Linked DNA regions of Homo sapiens: regions 2, 3, 4, 5, 6 and 7 are each linked to region 1. The links are contacts of gene promoters, found by promoter capture Hi-C in blood cells and fetal thymus (Javierre and others, 2016). All regions are on one chromosome and are shown on one strand. The core of a region is centred on a gene start or on the middle of the fragment in contact, and the rest is flanking DNA. Distances in the headings are between cores, read along the strand shown. Region 1 holds the start of MSL2 (MSL complex subunit 2). Region 2 overlaps SLC25A36 (solute carrier family 25 member 36). Region 3 has its middle 1.7 kb from the start of DNAJC13. Region 4 overlaps UBA5 (ubiquitin like modifier activating enzyme 5). Region 5 overlaps NPHP3 (nephrocystin 3). Region 6 overlaps COPB2-DT (COPB2 divergent transcript). Region 7 holds the start of LOC124909439.

Region 1 (2,920 bases), core at 106-2,605:
TGTGTACATATGTAACATGTGCCACAATAGATTTACACGCATCATAATTTTCACTTTGCAAACGTATAGAGTACCTACTGTGCATGAAAAATTATGCTGAGGAGCTTTGGTGTGTACAGAGATAAGAAATGCTTCCTATGGCCTGTTACTATTTGTGCTACTCAAAAAAAGGTTTTGTACTTTGAGATGGGAGGGAAGTCATCTACTAAGTCAGGCTTTTGTTTATTTATATCCCAGTGCCCTTGATCTCCTGCAAAAACAAAAGGCAAAAGCTTGTTTTAAAAAACAAAACATTTGCAAGGATTTGGGTTTGTTCTAGAGCAAGATCACGCATTCTTCAAGACATCTGTTCACACAGAAGAGCTAGGTCTTTTAAAAAAGCTAGGTCTTTCAAAAAAAAAAAAAAGGAGTTCGTTTTGTTTTTAAAACAGGACTCTGTTCCGGTGAGAGCTCGGTGAAGTCCTGATCGGCACCCATGAAGGTGAGGCCGCACGAGTCCAAGGGCCAGAGGCCGTGGGAACAGCGCGGGTCCGACGGGTAGGAGGGGGCAGTGGGTTCGAGCCTCCACGCTTACATACAGCCTGCCAGGGCCTTAGAGCCCTCTGACTGCGAACCACCGCAGAGAGGTGCGGAACGCGGCCCCGACCCGGCAAAAGCCGTCCGCACGCCTGCTGGGCGCGCAGCCACGTTGACTACTGCAGCCTTCCCGGCTCGGCGAGAGCCTGCCAGCCAGCCGAGGCTGCGCCCTTTCCGCGGTCGGGATGAGCGGTTCCAGGAGAAAGGCCGCGAGGGCGGGGCTTGGGGCCTGGCGCGGCTATTTCCTCACACCGCGGTCAGTCAGGACGAGAGGCCGCGTTCAGGCCAGTGCAGAGCGCCACATGGCGCTACCAAGTCGGGCCCCGGCGTTGGCGGGCACAGAAGCAGTGTAATGCGGGAAGCCTGCAGCCCACACTGGGGAAGGATGTGCCAGCTAACGAATGTTTCACCACAGCCCACATGCCTGGGAGAGGGAATTTGAGAGCACGTGGGGGAGGGGCGAAGAGAGCTGTCGGCTCGCAGAGAGCATGCTCCATTCTGAGAGTCGAAGTGGAGAGCCAGGCATGCGCAGTGAGCCCAGGGTGGGTTGGCAGCGGTGAGGGACTGGCGCGAGCAGGCTGATGTGTTTATCCGGTTTTCTGGGTGGGCGGTCAAAGCGCACGCGGAAGGGCGAAAGGCGGCGGAGCTAGGTAGCAGCTTGCGCATGCGTGGAGTGAGCCGGTAGCTCTGGGAGGCTGTGGAGGGGGTTGTTAGAGGAGAAGCAAGGGAAAAGGGAAGCGAAGGGAGAGGAAAGGGGGGAGGGGTGAGAGTGTGCTCTGCGCATGCGTGCGAGCGCTAGCGACGACGGCGGCGGGGGAGTCTCGGGGATGACAGTGGCTTTGCCCGTTGGGGTAACGGTCGTCGTCGCCGCCAGCAGAGGCCTGAGGCGCCACACAGCCCGCGGGATCCATTAAGGCCGCAGCAGCCCGGGCCCTACCGAGCTGGAGTGGCGCGTGGAGTCGGGGTGAGGGCGGCGAGGCACGGGGGAGGGGCCTGCGGCGGGGCCTTGCTGTGTGCGCTGGGCGGCGGCGGGGCCTGGCGGTGTGAGCGCTTGCCTTCCGCGGCCGGGGAGTGCTGAGGGCGGCGGCGGCCGTCGTGCTCGGCGGAGGAGTCGTCTGTGTGTGTGGCGCCGAAAAAATGGCCGGGCAGTGAGGGGGCGGCGCTTGAGTCTGGTGACCCCGGAGTGTGCGACTGAGGCGCGAGGGGCGCCGCCGCGGCCCGGCCGGGCTTGCCCCCCGCCCCCTCCCGCCCGCCGGCGGCGGCCCGCGCACTTCCTCCCCGGCCTTCCCCTCCGGGTTGAGGACTCCCGCCCGCCTCGCCACCTCGGGGAACTGCGGGCTGCAACCCACGGGGCGGAGAGCCAGGGCGCAGTCTGGGCCCCGCGTCCGATATGGAGAGCGCGGCGGCGGCGTCCGCCAGCCGCAACATCAACCTTCGTCGCCGCCGCGGCGTCTTGCACTAGATCCGGGAAGCCGCTGCCCGACCGTCGTCCTTGCCGTCGCCGCCGCCTCCGCGCCCTGTACTGGGATGGAGTAAGAGGCCCTGCAGCCCGGGAGAAGCGTGCCGCGCCTCAGACGGGGCCGGGGCCTGCTCCCGCGCCTGCCAGCTCGACTTGAGGAGGCGCCTCCGTGTCCGGAGATGGAGCTCGAGTGCAGGCCGCCTGCCGAGCCGCGGGGCTAGACTGAGCTCCGAGTCCCGCCCCGAGCGCCCAAGCCGCCGCGTTCTGCGCTCTGTGGTCGCTCCGGACGAACTCGAACGCTGGTTTCTCTCTCATATTTTTGGTCTGGAAGTCTCAGGGACGGAGGGGCGCCAAGGCCCCATGTGTGGGAGGATTGTTTCAGCTCCACAAACTTGCACGGATTTTGGTTACTTGTTTGGCCAATGGTTCGGCTCTGATTTCTTCCGAATTGTTGCAAATTCGCCATCGTTCCCTGGCTGCTTACTAAGTTGGATCCGGAATTTCTTTTCAACCGGGAGCCATTGGTGTCGAAGTGTCTGCAATGAACCCCGTGAATGCTACTGCTCTCTACATTTCCGCGAGCCGCCTAGTGCTCAACTACGACCCCGGAGACCCCAAGGCGTTTACTGAGATTAACAGGCTCTTGCCTTACTTCCGACAGTCCCTTTCGTGCTGTGTTTGCGGTGAGACGCTTTTTATTGTTCCCTTTTCAATGCTTGTTTTTAAAAGCCTTCTGGGCAGTGGTAACGTGAGCGGGTTGACGGCCTGGTGGTTGGTATTAAGCTTTTGTTATTTGTGCAGCGCTGTACGGTCATTAGTTTTGAAACTTGCTGAGGGACTTTTGCCCGGCGTTTCAGAAAGGCAGAGAACCCTTTCATACCGCTT
Region 2 (2,920 bases), core at 288-2,787, 4.7 Mb before region 1:
CTAAATATATATCCCTAGTCCAATCCTCTTTCCTGGACTCCAGGCTAGTAATCCAATCACTTAAACAATCAGCTTCTTGACCTCTCTACTTCTCAAACTTACCATGTCTAAAATGGAGCTTCTGATCTCCCCTCACCCCAACTCTGTTCCATCTGCAATCTTGCCCATCTCAGTTGACAGCAATTCCACCCTTCCAGGTGCCCAAACTAAAAACCCTGGAGTTATTCTTCGCTCTTCTTCTACACTCTGCATTCAATATGTCAAAAATCTTATTATCTTTACCTTCGAAGTCTAACTAGAATTCAACCACTTCTCACAATGTCCATTGCTTCCAACCTAGTCTGAATCACCATTATCAGTCAAGTGGATTATTGAAATAGCCTGATCAACTCCCTACTTCTGCCCCTGTCCCACGCATAGTCTAGCAGAGACCAATTAGCCTTTAAAAATTCTATGACTCCTCCCATTTCAATAGAAAAGGTCAAAGTCCTTTAAAGGCTTAAGAAGGCTCTATCATTCTGGCCATACCTGCTTCATTATCTCACTCTTACCAGGGCTAGGGTCTTACTGGGGCTAGTTCCTTTTGTATAGCTAATTCTCTCCCTTCCAAGTCTTTACTCAAATGTCATCTCAGTAAGATTCATCATCATTCGATTTAGTACTAGAGTGCACTCCTACCACAGTCCTTTAAGGTGCACCATTTTTTTTCCCACAGCACTTAATGCCTTCTAGTTAATGATAACAATTACTAGACAAGACAGTCCCTTGTCTTGCTGTCCGGTTGTCGATATTCTTCAATACTATATTACAACCAGACAAGTGGTAGGTTCTTAAAGGTTAGCTGAAATGTAGAATCTGAACTATACCAGTAAACTTTTCATACTGTTATATTAAAATCCACTGGTCTATTTTAAAATCTGAATGACTTTTTTACCCATGGCTGACTCCATGAAAAAAAGAAGCTAGTGTAGCCTGCAATTGAAACAACGCAGAACCACACTTCGGCATACAGTTACTTCATGTCTATTTCCCATTTTGTCACACAAAATATTAAATATAGAGGTATTCAAAGGTTGTGATTTAATAAAATTAGTATTTTTACTCCTTCATGAGCATTCTTAGGTTAAACTGGCTTTTTTTTTTTTTTTTAATTGCAAGTACCTGGAGGTGAATACGATGACTACAGTCTGGTGCCACTGCCTTCATGCATGCTAAGGCATCAGCAGTTTTACCCATCATTGCTTTTGCACCATCAGGACAAATGTCAACAAATTTGTGCCAATAATGTATTTTTATGAAAATAGTTTTAAACTCTCAGACCACAACAAGGGTCTCAAGAAGGAGAATCCCTGACCCACAATGTTGTGCTACACTAATCCATTTGCAGAAAAATGGTAGCTGCTGTGCTACAGTAATTCATTTATAGAAAAATGATTTGAGAATATTCTCCAACAGGATAAGAAACTTCCCTTAGTTTTGCAGTCTATTAGTAAGAAGAACGGAATGCATTTTTAGAAGGAAAAAAAGGGAAGGAGGATGTCTGAATGTTTGTCTCCCCCAAAACTAGTAAGATGAAATCCTACTCACATCCCAAGGTGATAGTATTAGGAGGTAGACGCTTTCAAGGTGATTAGGTCATGAGATTGTAGCCCTGACATTTGGGATTAGTACCTTTATAAGACACCAGAGATCTTGGCTAGCCTCTCCTACTACGTGAGGATACAGCAAGAGAGTATCTTCTATGAGGAAGTAGACCATCATCAAAAAACCTGTTACTGCTTTAATTTTGAACTTCCCAGCCTTCAGGACTGTTAGAAATATTTGTTATTTATAAGCCACCAGTTTTTGGTATTTTGTAATAGCAGCTTAAACAGAGCAAGACAGAGGAAAAGGAGAGGTAGTAAAAATTAAGGAAATGAGACTAATAAAAATATGGTCAGAGTGAAGCGGAAATAAATCACATTAATTATACTTTTAAGTATTCTACTTCTGCCCTGATCTTCAAGCAAACAGGTGAAATAATTTAACAAATATCGTTCATTATACCCAAATGGGAATTTCCTACTGAATAAATAATAATGATTGAGCAAATGAATGAGCTCCAGGATATAAAAATAGACAGTTCTTAGATCATCTTTGATTTTACTCACTACATATATTAAATTATCTGTCATAAGAGCTGCAAAGAAAATACTTCATCCACTTAAAATCTTAAGGTATATAGCTCCTATTTGAGACAATATCTCCCTCAAATAGAAAAAAAATGAGCTGCCTCTGTAGATATATGCAGCTGATACAATAACTAGACAATGTACAATTCTATCAGTCTTTAAAAATACATTTAATAGTGCTTTCATCTCTATATACATACATTAGAGGTACAGCTAAAATTAAATCACATTTACACCTTTTTTACAGGCTGTCATGATATCGTTCCTTAACTCAATTAACCTAACTACTGACCTTACAAACTCTGAATATTAACTCTGGCAAAAGCATAATGGGATCAAAGGGTGTCTTAAAGAAAGCACGAGTTATGCATGTGAGTATTTCACCCAGAACCAAGGTCCAGTGCTGGTGTTTAACAATACAGCTACTAGGCTATTAGAAATGTGGGATTCCGATAAACATATTTGAATATTACAATTCTACTTATCAGAAAAACAACTTAAAGGCTCCATATTCGGAAAACCCTTGCCTAAGATTAAATACTCTGTGAAAGGTTACTCTTGGTTCTTTTAAAATATACTGGGCTTCCTTTAAAAAGATAAGGTGTGTTTTACTGAACTCACTTATGTAACCACATATAAAAATAAAATCAAGATGAGATGCAAAGGAAGAGAAATTATACGGCTGAGCACCTATCTTGTATCAAATCCTACATACCATATCTCATTTAATACTCTAACTACATATGCTA
Region 3 (2,920 bases), core at 265-2,764, 3.8 Mb after region 1:
GCAGCGCGTCAGGGGGCTGGCGCCTCGGTGGGTGCTGAAAAGGACACGCCCCTGGGCGCGCGCGGGTGCCCATGACCACGCCCCTCCGGCGGGTGCCCATGACCACGCCCCTCCGGCGTGTGCCTTAGGGCCGCGCCCCTCCGCTTATGTCCTGCGGAGAGTAGGGTCGCAACCCGGTACTTAAGCTTTAAGTCCGAGGAAATCTTGTTTTAAATCACCTCTTTTTAGCTCTTGCCGTCAAGTGCCATGGAGCATCTGCGAGGCAGTCTGAAGCCTCAGCCTATCTCCTGGTTTGGCTGGATTGGGAGCCAGCAGGTTCATTTACTATTGAGACGTCCTGAACGACAGCAGAGCAGGGTTTAAGTTATGGATGCTCTGGAAGGTCTCAGAGACCAAATTCTCAGAGACGCCTAAGGCATTTGCAGGTGGGAATGCTGGAAAGATAGTTCTGGTAGCCCCATTTATTGTGTCCGGATCAAGTGTTTAGAAGTTTACTTAAAGCTGCTTAATCTTCAACTCTCTGAGATACGAATCATCCTCGTTTTGCAGATAAGTTGAGGCCCAGCCTCAGAGTAGTGGATTTCATGTTTGCACCCAAGTAATTTGAACCCAGAACCTGTGCCCTCTAGATAACCATCTTCCTGAACCTCACCTGAGAGGGAAGTCAGGGCAGTGAAAAGAGGGGATATTGGGACTAAAGGATTCGGCTAGAAATTATGTGTTATCTGTGGGCAATGGTTTAAATAAGAAAGGTCAATGTCCACTCCCAGATCTGAGCCGTAAAGACCACAGTTTAAAAATTAGTGATTAAAAAAAAAATAGTGATTCTGCTGCAGACTTCAGAGTAGAGGCAGTGTAGGGTGACCTGCATGGATACATTATTGTATAAGGGTTAAAGGTCTCTGATAAGGAGTTGAATACTCATTCTTCATGGCAGTCCTGAAATTGTGATTTCTTGGCGTCCCCTTCAGCAAGTTGGCTCATTTTATAGACAGCGATTGCAGGATGAAAAAATGTGGAAAAATGGTTTTTACAGACTTTACCTCTTGATTCTATTAACCCTTTGCCCTACCTTAGGGCGGAAAAAGACTATTTGTGTTTATCCTTAGACTTTTCTGTAATGCAGCAGTAAGATAAGGTGCATGTAAGGGAAGGTACTAGGAATAGCTGGGTGTGGGAAGACAGAACCCGAAATAGAGTAGGAAGGGAGGAGGAGGAAAAAGAAACAGGAGGGCTGTGTTAAGGGGCCTTATTGGCTTATCCCATGGAAACAGAAACGTGTTTATGTGGTTACAAAGCCTTCCAGTAATCCCAAAAGTAAATGTGGGGTATATTATTTCGATTTTAGAGAAGCAGCAGACCCAGAGAGTCCAGGAGACTTGCTAAAGGTGACCTAACTCCTAAAGGTTGAGCCAAGATTAAGACACAGGGCCTGCCTGTAACATCAAGGCCAGTGAACTGTTCAACCTCCACACTGCCTCTCTGTTCAATATTTGAGACCAATAAAATCAATTCTCGTGTTGAGAGGAGCCTTAGGCATCATGAATTGTCCCCATCCTCTGTAGTGCAAAATTGCCTCACAAGACATCTTTTTCCATTGCATTTTTATAAGCCATTTTCCTTGTATTCAGCCAACTTGCACTCTCTTCTATGAGTAGTTATTTTGTCTTTGTTTCTTGCTCTTTTCTTCTTGTATGTGACATTCATTTAAGCACTTATCAGTACAGCTTATCACCCTTTCCCACTCCCTCTCCCGTGCATATCCTTCTAACTACCCCTGCTACAGATACTCATTTTAAGAAACCATATTCAAAGTACTTTCAACCATTGTTCACAAGATGTAGTTTCAAGCCTTTTCACAACCACTGGTTGCTTTTAATTGGATCCATACAATTGGATCCTTCTTAAAATGCCACAACAAAATACAAGAGTCAGGGAGAGTAGGACTTGTCTCTTCTTTCCCTATTAGGTTAAATCAGTTGGATCCTTTCCCCACCCAACTCTTTTTTAAGAGTGACAAATGCACACTTCTTTTTCTGGATTTGTCTTTTTATTCATAATTAAAGTTTGCACTAGCGTTTCTGACACTTTCATAGTGCAGATGTATCAAATTTACAATCTAAATTATGTGATGTACACTTAAAATATTTCACAGCTTTTTAAAAAATACATTTCACAGCCTTTTAGGCACCAATAGCCTTTATCAGTCTCCAAAGTTAGCATACAAGGCTGGAGTGATCTAAGACTTTAGAGAGCCCACAAGAATGTCAAACACTTGCTTATCTAATTCCCATTGCTGCTAAATTGACCTTCCTAATTATATCAATGCCCAGATCCAAAGTAAATCCTTAAGAACTCATACCACTCAACAATGCTTGAACTATGTTTTCAGTACAGTAGCCACTAGCCCTATGTGGCTACTGAACACAGAATAAAAATTAAAATTGTTACAAAAAAATGTAAAATGTTGCATTAGCAATTTTTATATTGATTACACGTGTTAAAAGAAAAAAATATTTAGGCCGGGCACGGTGGCTCACGCCTGTAGTCCCAGCACTTTGGGAGGCTGAGGCGGGTGGATCACCTGAGGTCAGGAGTTTGAGACCAGCTTGGCCAACATGATGAAACCCCGTCTCTACTAAATATAAAAAAATTAGGCGGGCCTGGTGGTGCATACCTGTAATCCCAGCTATTCGGGATGCTGAGGCAGGAGAATCACTTGAACCTGGGAGGGGGAGGTTGCAGTGAGCCGAGATGGTGCCACTGCACTCCAGCCTGGGCAACAAGAGTGAAACTCTCAAAAAAAAAAAAAGTATTATTTAATGATACTTGTTAAAGCTTGGTAATAGGCTGAGCATGATGGCTGACACCTGTAATCCCAAGGCTTTGGGAGGCCAAGTCAGGAGGATCACTTGAGGCC
Region 4 (2,920 bases), core at 305-2,804, 3.5 Mb after region 1:
CTTGGTTAGATGTTAACTCTTCACAACTGGGCCATGCAATATATTAAAACTTACCCTTTCCTCTAACTCCCAACCCTGAAGTTAATAAGTATGTTTCTCCTGATGCTTAATTTCCTATGTATTTTCACAAATTCAACCGCCAACTTTCCACTAGTTATCTAAAGTTCCTCTAGATACATTCATATTCATGAGGTATTCTATCAATTTCATCTTCTTAAAGATGTATCTCCTAGAATCTGACATGATTGTCTCTAGACTTACTGCACATACAGCTCCCTTCCTAGGCTCTTCCTTCATCATTATACTACAAAGTCTCTTAATTTCTTTATTCTGTATTAATCCACTGTTTCCTGTATGCTATAGCTCACTAGTTCTAAAGTGTCTATGGATCAACAACAGGACCACCTGAGAATTTAATAGAAATGCAATTTCTTAGGCCCTACCCTATAATCACCCACTGAATCAGAAATCTTGAATGTGGAGTCCAACAATTTGCTTTAACAAGCCCTCCAGTAATTCTGATGCACATGACAGTTTAAAACACTGTCATCAATTATTTTTAAACTTACTCTCTTGCTGTGGTTAGAAGAACATCTTCCAGTAGTTTTGCAAAGGGTACGGCAAAGGTAAATTTTGAGAACTTTCATTTCTGAAAATGTTCCTTATCAAAATTATATTCTTTATAAAAATGACAAAGCAAAGGGCATATAATTGTGGGAAGCTACACATATACTCTTAATCGATAGTTTAACTTGGTAAAGAAGTCTAAAGTTAGAATTGTCTTTCAACATTTTAAGGTATTGCTCCAGTGTCTCCTAGCTTGTAAAATTTCACAGTGTGCCTTAATGTGAATCTGTTCTCATCCCTTGTGCTGAGTTTTTAGTGGACTCTTTCAAAATGAAAACTCACATTTTCAGTTCTGGGAAATGTCCTTGAAGAATCTGGTTACTTCCTTGTTTGGTTTGTTTTTCCTGGACTATCTGGAACTCCTATTATTTGGAAGTTGAACCATCTGGATTTGTCCTTTATCTTCTTTCTCCAGTTATCTACTATTTTAGTTTTCTGCTCTATTCTCTGGATGATTTCTTTCAACTTTATTTTCCAACACTTCTATTAAGATTTTCATTTCTATTACCATCTCCATTTGCAAGAATTCCTGATCATCTAAATACTTTGCACCTTGTTCCTGTATCATTTGTACCATATCTTCTCTCATCTAAGGATACTAATGATAATTTAGGGGGATGTGTTTATCTTACATAGTCTATCCAAGTTGCTATTTTTATTTCTTTCATGTTAGAAGTTTCTTTCATCCTTTGTTCTGTTCATATTTAAGTGTGGGACACTAATAAAGGTAACAATATAGGCAATAACTGTTTGACTTTGGACTTCACTGTAGGGTCATCTGGCCAGACTATTTAGTTGAGAAACCCACAATGTCAGTGTCTTTCAGTCTTTCCTCTTGGCTCTATCAGATTCCCTAGAGAATAATCTTTCAAACTCCAACCTGAGTTGGAGTTCCAACCCCACGATCAGCTGTTGGAAGTGAAGAAGCAAGGCTGGGAGTCTCGACACTCAGTATGTAAGCATTTAGTTTACATTCAGTCACAGCATTCAGCATGTAAACAATCAGTTTACCCCTTCCTTCAGGTACAAAGACCTGCCCCAATTATTCTTGGAAATCTTCTATTTTACTCTTTCTAATGAAGAAATCTCTACTCTCCTCTTCTGGTAGGGAAGGAGTGTTTGCCCAGTTACCCACAGTGGAGTAGGGGATCTGGGGCTTTTGTTTCTTCAACAGATTTTCAACTGAAAGTTTTTTTTAGCCCTACCTGAAGTTCTGCAAGTACCTGTGCCTATTCCTGAGCCTTTTGGGGGATTCTTGCAATAAACTGGGTTGCGAGCTTAAGATTAAACTTCTCTGAATCTATTAAATCAGTTACCTTCACCCATCCCTTCTCTAGTTTCCAAATTGTTACTATAATCAAGTACAGGGACCCACCCCTCCCTATCAGTTATTAATACGAACCCTTTATATTTTCAATGGGAGTTTCTTTTAAAAAATTCCTTTACTGTCACTTTAGTGAGGTTGGGTAGAAAGTGATGGCAGATCCATCACAGGAATTTGCTATCCTTACCTTGATGCTCCCTTCAATCTTTAAATAATCTGAGAAGCATGGATGGCAACCCCCTTTTACAGATGAGGGAAACGGTTTGGGTTAATCAACTGCCCAAAATCAGCTAACTGGCAAGTGGTATTCTGAGCTGGGTTTCTGAGCCAGGATTTGATACCAGGTTTTCTAATCTCAAAGCCTCTCCAATTTTTCCACATGCTTATAACTATATTCCATAACACATAATTTTACGGTTACTTGTGTTTTTTAATATCCCACCTCCATGTAGTCTCTCAAACTGAAGCAAAAGTCAGGTGCTTTATATTTCTTTTGTATCTCTTGAAGCAATTAAAATGGTGTTGAACACATACATATCCCTTTCCTATAACCTTTTGTACTTTATCATAATTCAATAACCTGTACTTTATCAATAATAACACTGTACTTTATCATAATTCTTATCACCTGTACTGCAATGGCATGTTTACTTTTCTATTTATCTCACACTCATCTGGTAAGCTCTAGAGGGAAAAGACCATGTCTACTTTATATTCACAGTGTCTGCACACAATAAGTACTCAATACAAAGTAAATAATATTGTCAAGGAGGACTGGAGACAAAAATGTACTCAGTAAATATTTGCTGTATGAACAATTCAAAAAATTAAAGCTGAACTTTATTAAAATTCCATATATCAGTGAACAGCTTTGGGTATCAAACTGCCATCTCCTGTATAGCAATTTTAATAAAGTCAATGGTGCAAATCAGATAGAAAATACTACATATTTAGACTTGAGTTCTGAAA
Region 5 (2,920 bases), core at 202-2,701, 3.5 Mb after region 1:
AACAGGCACACAGTCTCTTAGAACTACTTATCCTTCAAGTTAAGCCTTACAAAATGTAATTTTTACTATCACAAAGATGGAAAAGGCATAAGGAAGTTTAAGAGCTGATGCAGTGTTTCAAAAAAAGTTAATTTCCATTGAAAGCTTAATGTTGGTCTTTATTTGTGGTAGTTCAAGCATGGTTGCGGTTTTTTTCCATCATGTTTTGAATAAAATGGCAACATGAAGTTCCTGATAATTGGTAAAATAATAAGTAGACTTAAAATTCTAAGATACGTAACATATATATATATATATGTATATATATAAGAATGTAAAATTGAGGAGCAAGACTATTTTTGTTAGGAAATAACAAGGTAAATTATTCTAGGCACTTCAAAAAACGTATCAGAAGATACTTCGAGAAAAAGAAAGTGCTTTAGAAGCGAAATACCAAGCAATGGAGAGAGCAGCAACATTTGAACATGACAGAGATAAAGTTAAAAGGCAATTCAAGGTAAATTCCTTACATTTTTACCCCCAAAGCAACATAGAATAAAATAGTATATTCTAAAAGTATATATAATATATAATGCGATGAATAAATAGAAGTAAGTCATGTAGGATTCAGGAAAGTTGTAAGAATTAGTGTAGAGCACTTTCACATTTTTGAGTTGGACGTGGTAAACTTGAGATCATTTCAAAGAAAAACGTATGAAAGTGAACATTTTAATAGTAATTTCGAAAAAAAGGAAAGCGTTTCCATATGGGGAAAAGCATTTGGAAATGTTTAGGGATGTTGTATTATTGGTATTTAGTGGGAGAGAGACAAATTTCCTAAACATCATGCAGTGCACATGACAGACCCACACCACAGACACGCATCCTGCTGGAATTCCAGTGGCTTCCAGTTGCAAAACAGTAAGGTAAAGGTACTAGGACATTCACCCTATGAAAGAGGAAATCGAGGACCAAATGAATATTGGTTTTATGAATGAAATATTTTTCCCTTAAAGTTGATGACACAACTTTTTGATTATGAAAAAGCTTTCAACATTAAAATTATTCTTTTTAAAGATTTTTAGGGAGACCAAAGAAAATGAAATTCAGGACTTACTGAGGGCCAAGAGGGAGTTGGAGAGCAAACTTCAGAGGCTACAGGCTCAGGGTATCCAAGTATTTGATCCTGGGGAGTCTGATTCAGATGACAACTGTACAGATGTCACTGGTAAGTGTATATCCTATTTATATTTTGAGCTTTCAACATGGCTGTAATGACATGTAGAGCCAACTTTGAATTCTGCTAGATTTCTTTTACTTATCTATATTAGGTTATTGCTTTAACTACTGTTGCAAATAGTGTCGTGTGTTCTCTCTGTCAGCTGCTAAGACACCTCTTCTCCACGAAGTGTATGAATTTGGGGACTGAAGTTCCTTCTACCTTGTCACTCTGCCAACCCTAACCCATAACTTTTACTCTCTAGTCTAAGATATCTACCCCAGCTCCCACCAGCACATCTGCATTTTAGCCAAGGGAAAGAAGGAAGGGGAGAACACGTTCCTTTCCCAGAAGGTACAACCTAAGATCACTTCTCAAATCCCATTAGTCAGAACTATAACTGGGAAGACTGGATAGTGTAATCAGCAGCCAGGCAGACATGTGTCCAACTAAAATGTAGTGTTCTGTTACTGAAGAAAGAAGAGGAGAATGGATATTGGAGTTACTAGTCTCTGCAATGTTATTTCTTTACATAATGATGTATTCTTTGCAACTATCATTTAGAATACTTGCCTTATAGTTCACTGAGTGGTTTCCAGTATAGCCTTGTGAACTATTCAAAAAGTATTTGTTTTATAATTAAACAAATGAAACATGTTTTCTGGAAATAAAAGCTTGAAATCACAGAGTGAAAGGGTTTACATATTCTAAGAAAATGTTAAAGTGTGATTGATACTGAAAAAAGAAAAATATTCTATTTTAAAATGCAGTGGAAAAATGTAGTCACTCTCCCATTTGTAATGAACTGTAAGTATATTCTCACAAATGGATGCATTTTGGAGTAAAATATGGTAACTGACAGTTCCTTCTTAATTTTCATTGTAGTATCATTGGAATCTGACCAACATCCTGGAATTTTTATTGCTAACTTTTAAGGAAAAAAAATGAAGGCCGGGCACGGTGGCTTATGCCTGTAATACCAGCACTTTGGGAGGCCAAGGCGGGCGGATCACGAGGTCAAAAGATCAAGACCATCCTGGCCAACATGGTGAAACCCCGTCTCTACTAAATACAAAAATTAGCTGGGCATGGTGGTGCGTGCCTGTAGTCCCAGCTACTCGGGAGGCTGAGGCAGGAAAATCACTTGAACCCAGGAGGTGGAGGTTGCAGTGAGCCAAGATCGCGCCACCGCACTCCAGTGTGGCAACAGAGCCAGACTCATCTCAAAAAAAAAAAAAAAAAAAAAAAAAGATTCTTAATGGCCAAGAGTAGCTGAGAAAATGCTCTTTTATACCCCAACACAAGTCTTAGTGATTATTTCAGTATTGACATACTCAAATGTACAGTGTTTCAAAACTATTGTAATTGTCTTGGCAAGTTAGAAACAAATTCCTTTCTAGGTCTTTTTTCATTTTTGTTTTAAACATGAAGAAGGAACACTTGAGGGGGAATGTCACCCATGTGAGATTCAAAGAGCTACAAATAGTAAGCTCAGTTTTGCCAGAGATTTAGCTCAAATAACCATTTACTTAAGGTTATCAAGGATGTAGATATTCTGACAAATATAATTGATTAGAAAATCATCATGTTCATAAGTAGCTATTGATTCAGACATTAATTTTGTTGCTCTAGGAGGTTGAGAAGGAGGTACTTCCTGCTGCAAAGAGTTTATGTCCTAATAAATTATGAATATTTTTATATTTATGTGTGTTAGTAACAGTC
Region 6 (2,920 bases), core at 230-2,729, 3.2 Mb before region 1:
CTTACAGTGAGACACCTCTCACATCAACATTTGCCTTTCTTCACTAATCGCTTGGTAAAATAGTTTATACTGATGACCTCTACTTTTTTTATCATCCAATAATTTCTAAACCCTTTGTAAACTTGCCTTCCCTACCATTACTCAACTTTTTTGAAGGCTGATAGTGTCCTCATAATCATTTATTTCATTGGCAATAGTTTTGGCAAATACTAAGCCTCCTTAAATTCTCTAAAGCTATCAAGATGCTAGTCACCCAGTCACATTTTCCCTTTCTTTTCCTTCTGTGACATAAAGTTATTCTGGGTCTCTTATTCTGATTGTTCCTACACTGACTCCACTTCTTTTTCTTTCACTTTTTCTTCTTTCCTGATTCTCTTTCTCTGATTGTTCCTTCATTGGCTCCACTATCATTCACTGGCTCCACATCTTCCTCTGATTAAAGATATTCTTCTGGGTTCATTAGATTAAAAACATCAGCAATAGGATGCCTCCCACTCCCTCAATTCAACAAACGCATTTGTGTATCCAGTTGATTCTAGCTTCTCAGGGAAAAAAGGAGAAATTACAATCCAGTAAAAAAAGATGTTAGTATCATTAAATATAACTTAGGTTCATATCTCAGGTCTGTCAGTCATGAGCAATGTGGCATGAGGTATACTACTTAATCAATTTAAGCCTCTGTTTTTCATCTATAAATTGGAGAAAATAATGCCTATCTTTTAGTATTACTTTATGAATTGCAGTATGCAAAGTACATATTCCAATGGCAGGTAGGTACATAGTGGGCATTTAATAAAAATTTTTCCTTATTACTGTTATTTCCACACTCACTTCCACCAAACTTATATAGTCTGTTTCAACTTCTTTTAGTGTGTCATACACATCAACAAAAGACAAATCATCTAGAGTACAGATATAAACAGGTTTCCTATCTGGCCCAGTAAGTCCCAACTGCTTGACTCAAAGCTCAATTTCTCCCGATTTAAAAATCTTCAGGTTCTAGCCCCAAGCTTCCTCTTCAACCTTCTCCCTCACTGCTCTTCTAAATGAATACCATTCTCCAAACAAATTGGACCTTTTTTGGTTCTCAAACATGCCGTATACTCTTCACCTCAAAGTCCACCTCAGATTCTACCTCCTTTATGAAACTTATCTCCCTAGCTGGATATTTTATCTTCAGAGTATTTTACTGGTACTTCTCTCAGAAGGTACTCATATTCTGCCTGGTATTCAATTATTTGTGCATAAATAACCTTTCCTGCTTATAAATTGTAACCCCTTTGAAGGGAGAAACTAGGTTCCTATTCGTGCTAGTACTTACCACTTAGCTAAGTGATAACACATGTATATTTAAAAATAATAAACAAGGCTGGGTGTGGTGGCTCAAGCCTGTAATCCCAGCACTTTGGGAGGCAACGCAGGCAGATCACCTGGGGTCAGGAGTTCAAGATCAGCCTGGCCAACATGGTGAAATCCCATCTCTTCTAAAACTACAAAAATCAGCCAGGCGTGGTGGCGTGCACCCGTAGTCCCAGCTACTGGGGAGACTGAGGCAGGGGAATCGCTTGAACCCGGGAGGTGGAGGTTGCAGTGAGCTGAGATGGCGCCACTGCACTCCAGCCTGGGTGACAATGTGAGACACCATCTCAAGATAAATAAATAAATACAAATAAAATAAAATAATAAACAAAAAACCCTGACTCTTTCTCAACGAATTATTTTCCTCAACTTCTTATGAAGAGGTAGGAATAGGGTGGGAAGGGAACAGTGTATATAGGGTACTTACAGAGGCACTGCAACCTGAATTCCCACTTGGAATTCTCCCAGCTGCTGCAAAAAGGCAGGGCTGAAATAGCTATTATAGAAATTGACTAGGTAAGACTTTAAGATCTGTTAATCGATTGCAGTCAACCTCTTGGGAAACCCTTTACCAATCTGCTAAGCTTGTCTATATTTCTTTTCTTCCCAACGGTTATTTTTCCTAACCTTCCAGTCTCCTCTAAACCAAGTAAACAAAAGATTTTAATTTAAACCCACAGTCGAACGCCTAGTGAAATACACGTGTATATTTAATGTTATGTATTAGTTCCTATTTAAGAATTTTATTTCTTTAAAATTTATTTCAACCAAAATCCAACACCAAATTCTATGGGTAATATCTTAAGGCAGCACCTAGTATAGTGCTTTGTATATAGTACACATTCAGTATGTAATGGTTAAAAGAGTGAATTTACAGTCTACAATTGCAGGACTTAATTTTGGCTAATTGCAGTGGAAAACATGAGAAAAGATATAGTCCAAGTAAGAATGACACTTGAGGGTTCAGGCCCGCAACACCAGCTAGGTAGACCCTTAGGTGGCCCAGTGGTATACAAAGATTTAAGCATTCCCAGCTGAGCCCCTTGACAATAGAGATACATCATTTTATTTTGTATCACTTAGTACTGTGCCAAATCCAAAAATACTCTCTCAAGTGCAAGAGTATTCAGGAGTTAGAAATATTGAAAGTTCCACTATTCAAGCAAATTAGGTATAGTTCATATAATTTTTTCAACTCAGGATCCTCAGTCACTCCATAGAGTAAGCAAAGTATGCAATTACTAGAATTATTAGTCTCAATTTACATAAGATCACACTGCTGGCACTAAACTCCAGTTCCAGACTCTTTTTTCCACTATTGAATGCCACAGAAACATAAAAAAAAAAAAAATGGAAGGATCTTTAGAAACCATGTAGCTGGATTTTTTTTAAGATGATGAAAACTGAGGCCCATGAAGAGAGTCACATTAGCTCAAGGCTCCTACTAAAGCCAAATAATTTCGTGCAAAATCATCTCCCTCTGATTATCATTATCTACACACACAAATACATAATTTTTCTTTTTGCCTTTCTGAAAATCTGGAGGTCTGAAAAGACTTTA
Region 7 (2,920 bases), core at 310-2,809, 3.1 Mb before region 1:
CCTCAGCTATTTTCCCCCAACTTAGCATTAATATTAACAGTGCTGTTTATGAACTCATTCCCTATTTGGGAGGGGAAGGGAGAGCACTAGGCTTGGTGCCTATTTAGGCAAGTCTGCTGCCCTGCACTTCCCAATGCTTACACCTACATGATAGCAGGTGTCAGAGACTAGTGGCAGGATGAATGCAGGTGTCTCCCAGCCCATGCCTTTTCTCTGAAAATGAACCCTCTACTTTCTTCCCATAGCTGAGGGAGCAGGCCTCAGTGGCTATGTTTTTCCTGTAAACATCCTCCTGGACACAGCTGATTGGACACTTAGTGCAGGATGAATGAATCCATTGGCTGCTGTATTAGCATTAGTTTCCTGTGGCTGCTATAACAAACTACCACAAATATTATGGTTTAAAATAACAAAAATGTATTCTTTCACAATTCCGCATGAGAAATCTGAAATCAGTATTACTGAGCTGAAATCAAGGGAGCTCTGCTCCCCTTAGAGTCTATCTCTGGAGAAGAATCTGCCCCTTGTCTCTTCCAGTTTCTGATGACTGTAAACATTCCTTTGCCTGTGGCTGCATCATTTCAATCTCTGCCTCCATCTTCACATCAGCTTCTCTTCTTCTATTTGTGCCAAATCTTCCTCTGTTTTCTTCTTATAAGGATGTATGTGATTGCATAATCACTGACCCACCCTGATAATCCAAGATAATCCCCATTTTAAAATCTTTAACTTAATCACATCTGCAAAGACCATGTTTCCATATAAGGTAACATCCACAAGTTCCATGGATTAGAGTGCAGTTATACTTGGGAGGAAGTATGGGGGCATTCTTCAGCCTACCCCAGATGACCAGGCACCAAGCAGATTTTTTCTCAATAATTCAAACTATGAGACATAGAATAGTCGACGGTGGAAGCTTGAAGTGAATAACTAAGTATTTAGGGTTTGGGCTGAAGCAGCCTTTTTCAGCAATGTGCTCACTGATGAGTGAGCAGGGAAAAGCCACTCTGCAGAGAGAGGCAGGAAAATGGAGCAGATCCTCAGAAGCAGAGATGGGAGAATATGTACGGAGAGAGATGGAGAAAGGTGGTGTCTTGGCCAGAGAGCTTCCCACTTTCCTTTCAATGACCTCTTTTACTTGGGGTACAGTGAGTTTTACTGATATGGAGTAATGAAGATTCCTGGTTTAAGCTATAACCTCAGGCAGATGCCCACATCTTTCAGAGCCCCAGTACCTCACCTGCAAAATGGGCATAATGACAATACTTATCTTGCAAACTTTGAGAATAAAGTACTTTCAGGATCTGATGTCTGGTGTTTCATAAAGATGGTGTGAGAAGGTTGTGTGGTGGCAAGTCAATTACTTTCTTTTTTTCTTTTCCGTTTTTTTTTTTCTTTTGAGACAGGGTCTTTCTTACTTTGTCACCATGGCTGGAGTGCAGTAGCATGATCTCAGCTCACTGCAACCTCTGCCTCCTGGGCTCAAGCAATCCTCCCACCTTAGCCTCCCAAGTAGCTAGGACTACAGGTGCACACCACCATGCCCAGCTAATTTTTGTGTTGTCCAGGCTGGTCTTGAACTCCTGGGCTCAAGTGATCTGCCCGCCTCAGCCTACCAAAGTGCTGGAATTGCAGGCATGAGCCATGGCACCCAAGTCAGTTACTTTCTGAGGATGGTATTCAGAAGTACTCTGGTTGCAAGAAACAAATCTTTCCTGAGTAAAACTGAAATGGGAGTAATTGGAAGGATACTGAATATCTCACAGAATTCAAGAAAAAGCTCAACAGCCAAGCCTCAGGAAGGACTTGAAAGATGGCAGCTCCAAGAACCCCAGAGGCAGGAACTCAAGAGATCTCTCCAGGAGGTTGCAGTCCTAATGGCTTGGTTCCAACTCCCTGCCTTCCATCCAATCTAAGTTCCTGGTGAGAGAGGCTGATTGGCCTGGGTGGGGTTCTGTTCACCACTGGGGGTTGGGGAGGGTTGGCCCTCTGACTGACAGTCCCAAGGCTATCTGGCTGCAGCTACTGTTAGGATTCATTAGGTCATATCTTCACCAGCTCTGTGGAGCAAGCATGGTTTTCTATTATTTGTAAAACAAAAGTATAGTGATGCCTCAGTGGGGAGTGCCTTATCCCACTCTCAGTGATTTAACAGGGTCTGGACTTCTGTTTTTTAAAAGATATATTTTATCCTAAGCTTTTAGAAGTCAAGATGGGGTTAGGGGATAAAAGTCAGGGAGAGGAATGGAGAGAGGAAGAACAGAGCCCAAGGAAGAAAGGTGACAGTCTGGACAACGCAAGAACCCCTGCGGTCTCCAGCAACCACACTCATGTGACTTCTGTAAGTCTTCAATTCCCTATCCTTGAGGCCTCCCAAAAGGTCCACATCCACCCCACTTTTGACTTCACCCAGAGTTTTTATTCTTCTGGCCCCTATTCAAAGTCCAAACCTCTTACATGTTCCTACAGAGACACAAATTCCATGGCCGAAATTCCCCTTTGTGTGCTGAGAAGGGACTGGTAGCAAGGAAAAAACCAAAGATCCAGTAACGAGAAGGGACAAGTGATGTTGTGGATCCCTGAGGAAGCTTCAGGGGATGAAGATTCTAAGTGGAGGCATTGGTAGTAGATGCAAAGGAGCCTTTGCACCAGTAGGCCAGGAGTTAAGGATGGTTAGAGTGGATACGTTTTGGGGAGAGAATCAGAGAGCCTTCCTGCCTCTCTGTCCCTTTTTCTGAGCACTGGAAAGCAAAATCATTGGTCGAGAAGAGGTACGGTTGTGTTGGGAGCTATAGGAATGAGCAGTTTGAAGTATCTGCTGGGGCTGGGCACATGGCTGGGATGCAACCTGCTGAGCAGTGGGACAGTCAGTAGCAGTGCAGAAGAGGAGATAATTCCAGAGAAAGAGGGGAAACATCAG

Evidence for each region. The method cuts DNA at HindIII sites, captures the fragments that hold promoters and counts their contacts. A CHiCAGO score of 5 or more calls a contact.
Region 2: a fragment that was not itself captured here is called in contact with the fragment with the promoter of MSL2 in region 1 in 2 of 17 cell types (non-activated CD4 T cells and naive CD8 T cells); the score reaches 6.3 in non-activated CD4 T cells.
Region 3: a fragment that was not itself captured here is called in contact with the fragment with the promoter of MSL2 in region 1 in 2 of 17 cell types (fetal thymus and total B cells); the score reaches 6.6 in fetal thymus.
Region 4: a fragment that was not itself captured here is called in contact with the fragment with the promoter of MSL2 in region 1 in 1 of 17 cell types (total B cells); the score reaches 8.2 in total B cells.
Region 5: a fragment that was not itself captured here is called in contact with the fragment with the promoter of MSL2 in region 1 in 3 of 17 cell types (total B cells, non-activated CD4 T cells and naive CD4 T cells); the score reaches 6.5 in total B cells.
Region 6: a fragment that was not itself captured here is called in contact with the fragment with the promoter of MSL2 in region 1 in 2 of 17 cell types (total CD8 T cells and fetal thymus); the score reaches 9.6 in total CD8 T cells.
Region 7: a contact is called between a fragment that was not itself captured here and the fragment with the promoter of MSL2 in region 1, in 3 of 17 cell types (total CD8 T cells, non-activated CD4 T cells and activated CD4 T cells). The highest score is 8.0, in total CD8 T cells.

What each region holds. Positions count from the first base shown.
Region 1 is chr3:136,194,770-136,197,689 of GRCh38, reverse strand. It overlaps MSL2 (MSL complex subunit 2), which reads left to right and starts at 1,355. Exons shown (of 2, transcript NM_018133.4): 1 at 1,355-2,718. The coding sequence starts at 2,577. RefSeq lists enhancers at 808-1,107, 1,278-1,327, 905-1,651, 2,278-2,347, 1,652-2,398 and 2 more and a silencer at 1,548-1,937. The HindIII fragment of the contact is 2,546 bases long and covers 275-2,820 here.
Region 2 is chr3:140,943,969-140,946,888 of GRCh38, reverse strand. The region is part of intron 1 of SLC25A36 (solute carrier family 25 member 36); the gene reads right to left. Among named protein-coding and RNA genes, the nearest start is that of SLC25A36, 3.6 kb to the right of the region's middle. The HindIII fragment of the contact is 4,988 bases long and covers 1-2,920 here.
Region 3 is chr3:132,414,386-132,417,305 of GRCh38, reverse strand. No RefSeq gene overlaps it. Among named protein-coding and RNA genes, the nearest start is that of DNAJC13, 1.7 kb to the left of the region's middle. RefSeq lists a silencer at 15-114. The HindIII fragment of the contact is 2,653 bases long and covers 188-2,840 here.
Region 4 is chr3:132,662,137-132,665,056 of GRCh38, reverse strand. The region is part of intron 1 of UBA5 (ubiquitin like modifier activating enzyme 5); the gene reads right to left. The region is part of intron 26 of NPHP3-ACAD11 (NPHP3-ACAD11 readthrough (NMD candidate)); the gene reads left to right. Among named protein-coding and RNA genes, the nearest start is that of UBA5, 3.3 kb to the right of the region's middle. The HindIII fragment of the contact is 4,577 bases long and covers 1-2,920 here.
Region 5 is chr3:132,717,281-132,720,200 of GRCh38, reverse strand. NPHP3 (nephrocystin 3) reads left to right here. Exons shown (of 27, transcript NM_153240.5): 2 at 371-496; 3 at 1,057-1,207. It overlaps NPHP3-ACAD11 (NPHP3-ACAD11 readthrough (NMD candidate)), which reads left to right. Exons shown (of 45, transcript NR_037804.1): 2 at 371-496; 3 at 1,057-1,207. Among named protein-coding and RNA genes, the nearest start is that of NPHP3-AS1, 3.0 kb to the left of the region's middle. The HindIII fragment of the contact is 846 bases long and covers 1,029-1,874 here.
Region 6 is chr3:139,390,991-139,393,910 of GRCh38, reverse strand. The region is part of intron 1 of COPB2-DT (COPB2 divergent transcript); the gene reads right to left. Among named protein-coding and RNA genes, the nearest start is that of COPB2-DT, 2.6 kb to the right of the region's middle. The HindIII fragment of the contact is 933 bases long and covers 1,013-1,945 here.
Region 7 is chr3:139,339,991-139,342,910 of GRCh38, reverse strand. It overlaps LOC124909439, which reads left to right and starts at 2,038. Exons shown (of 2, transcript XM_047449421.1): 1 at 2,038-2,341. The coding sequence starts at 2,213. The HindIII fragment of the contact is 1,281 bases long and covers 919-2,199 here.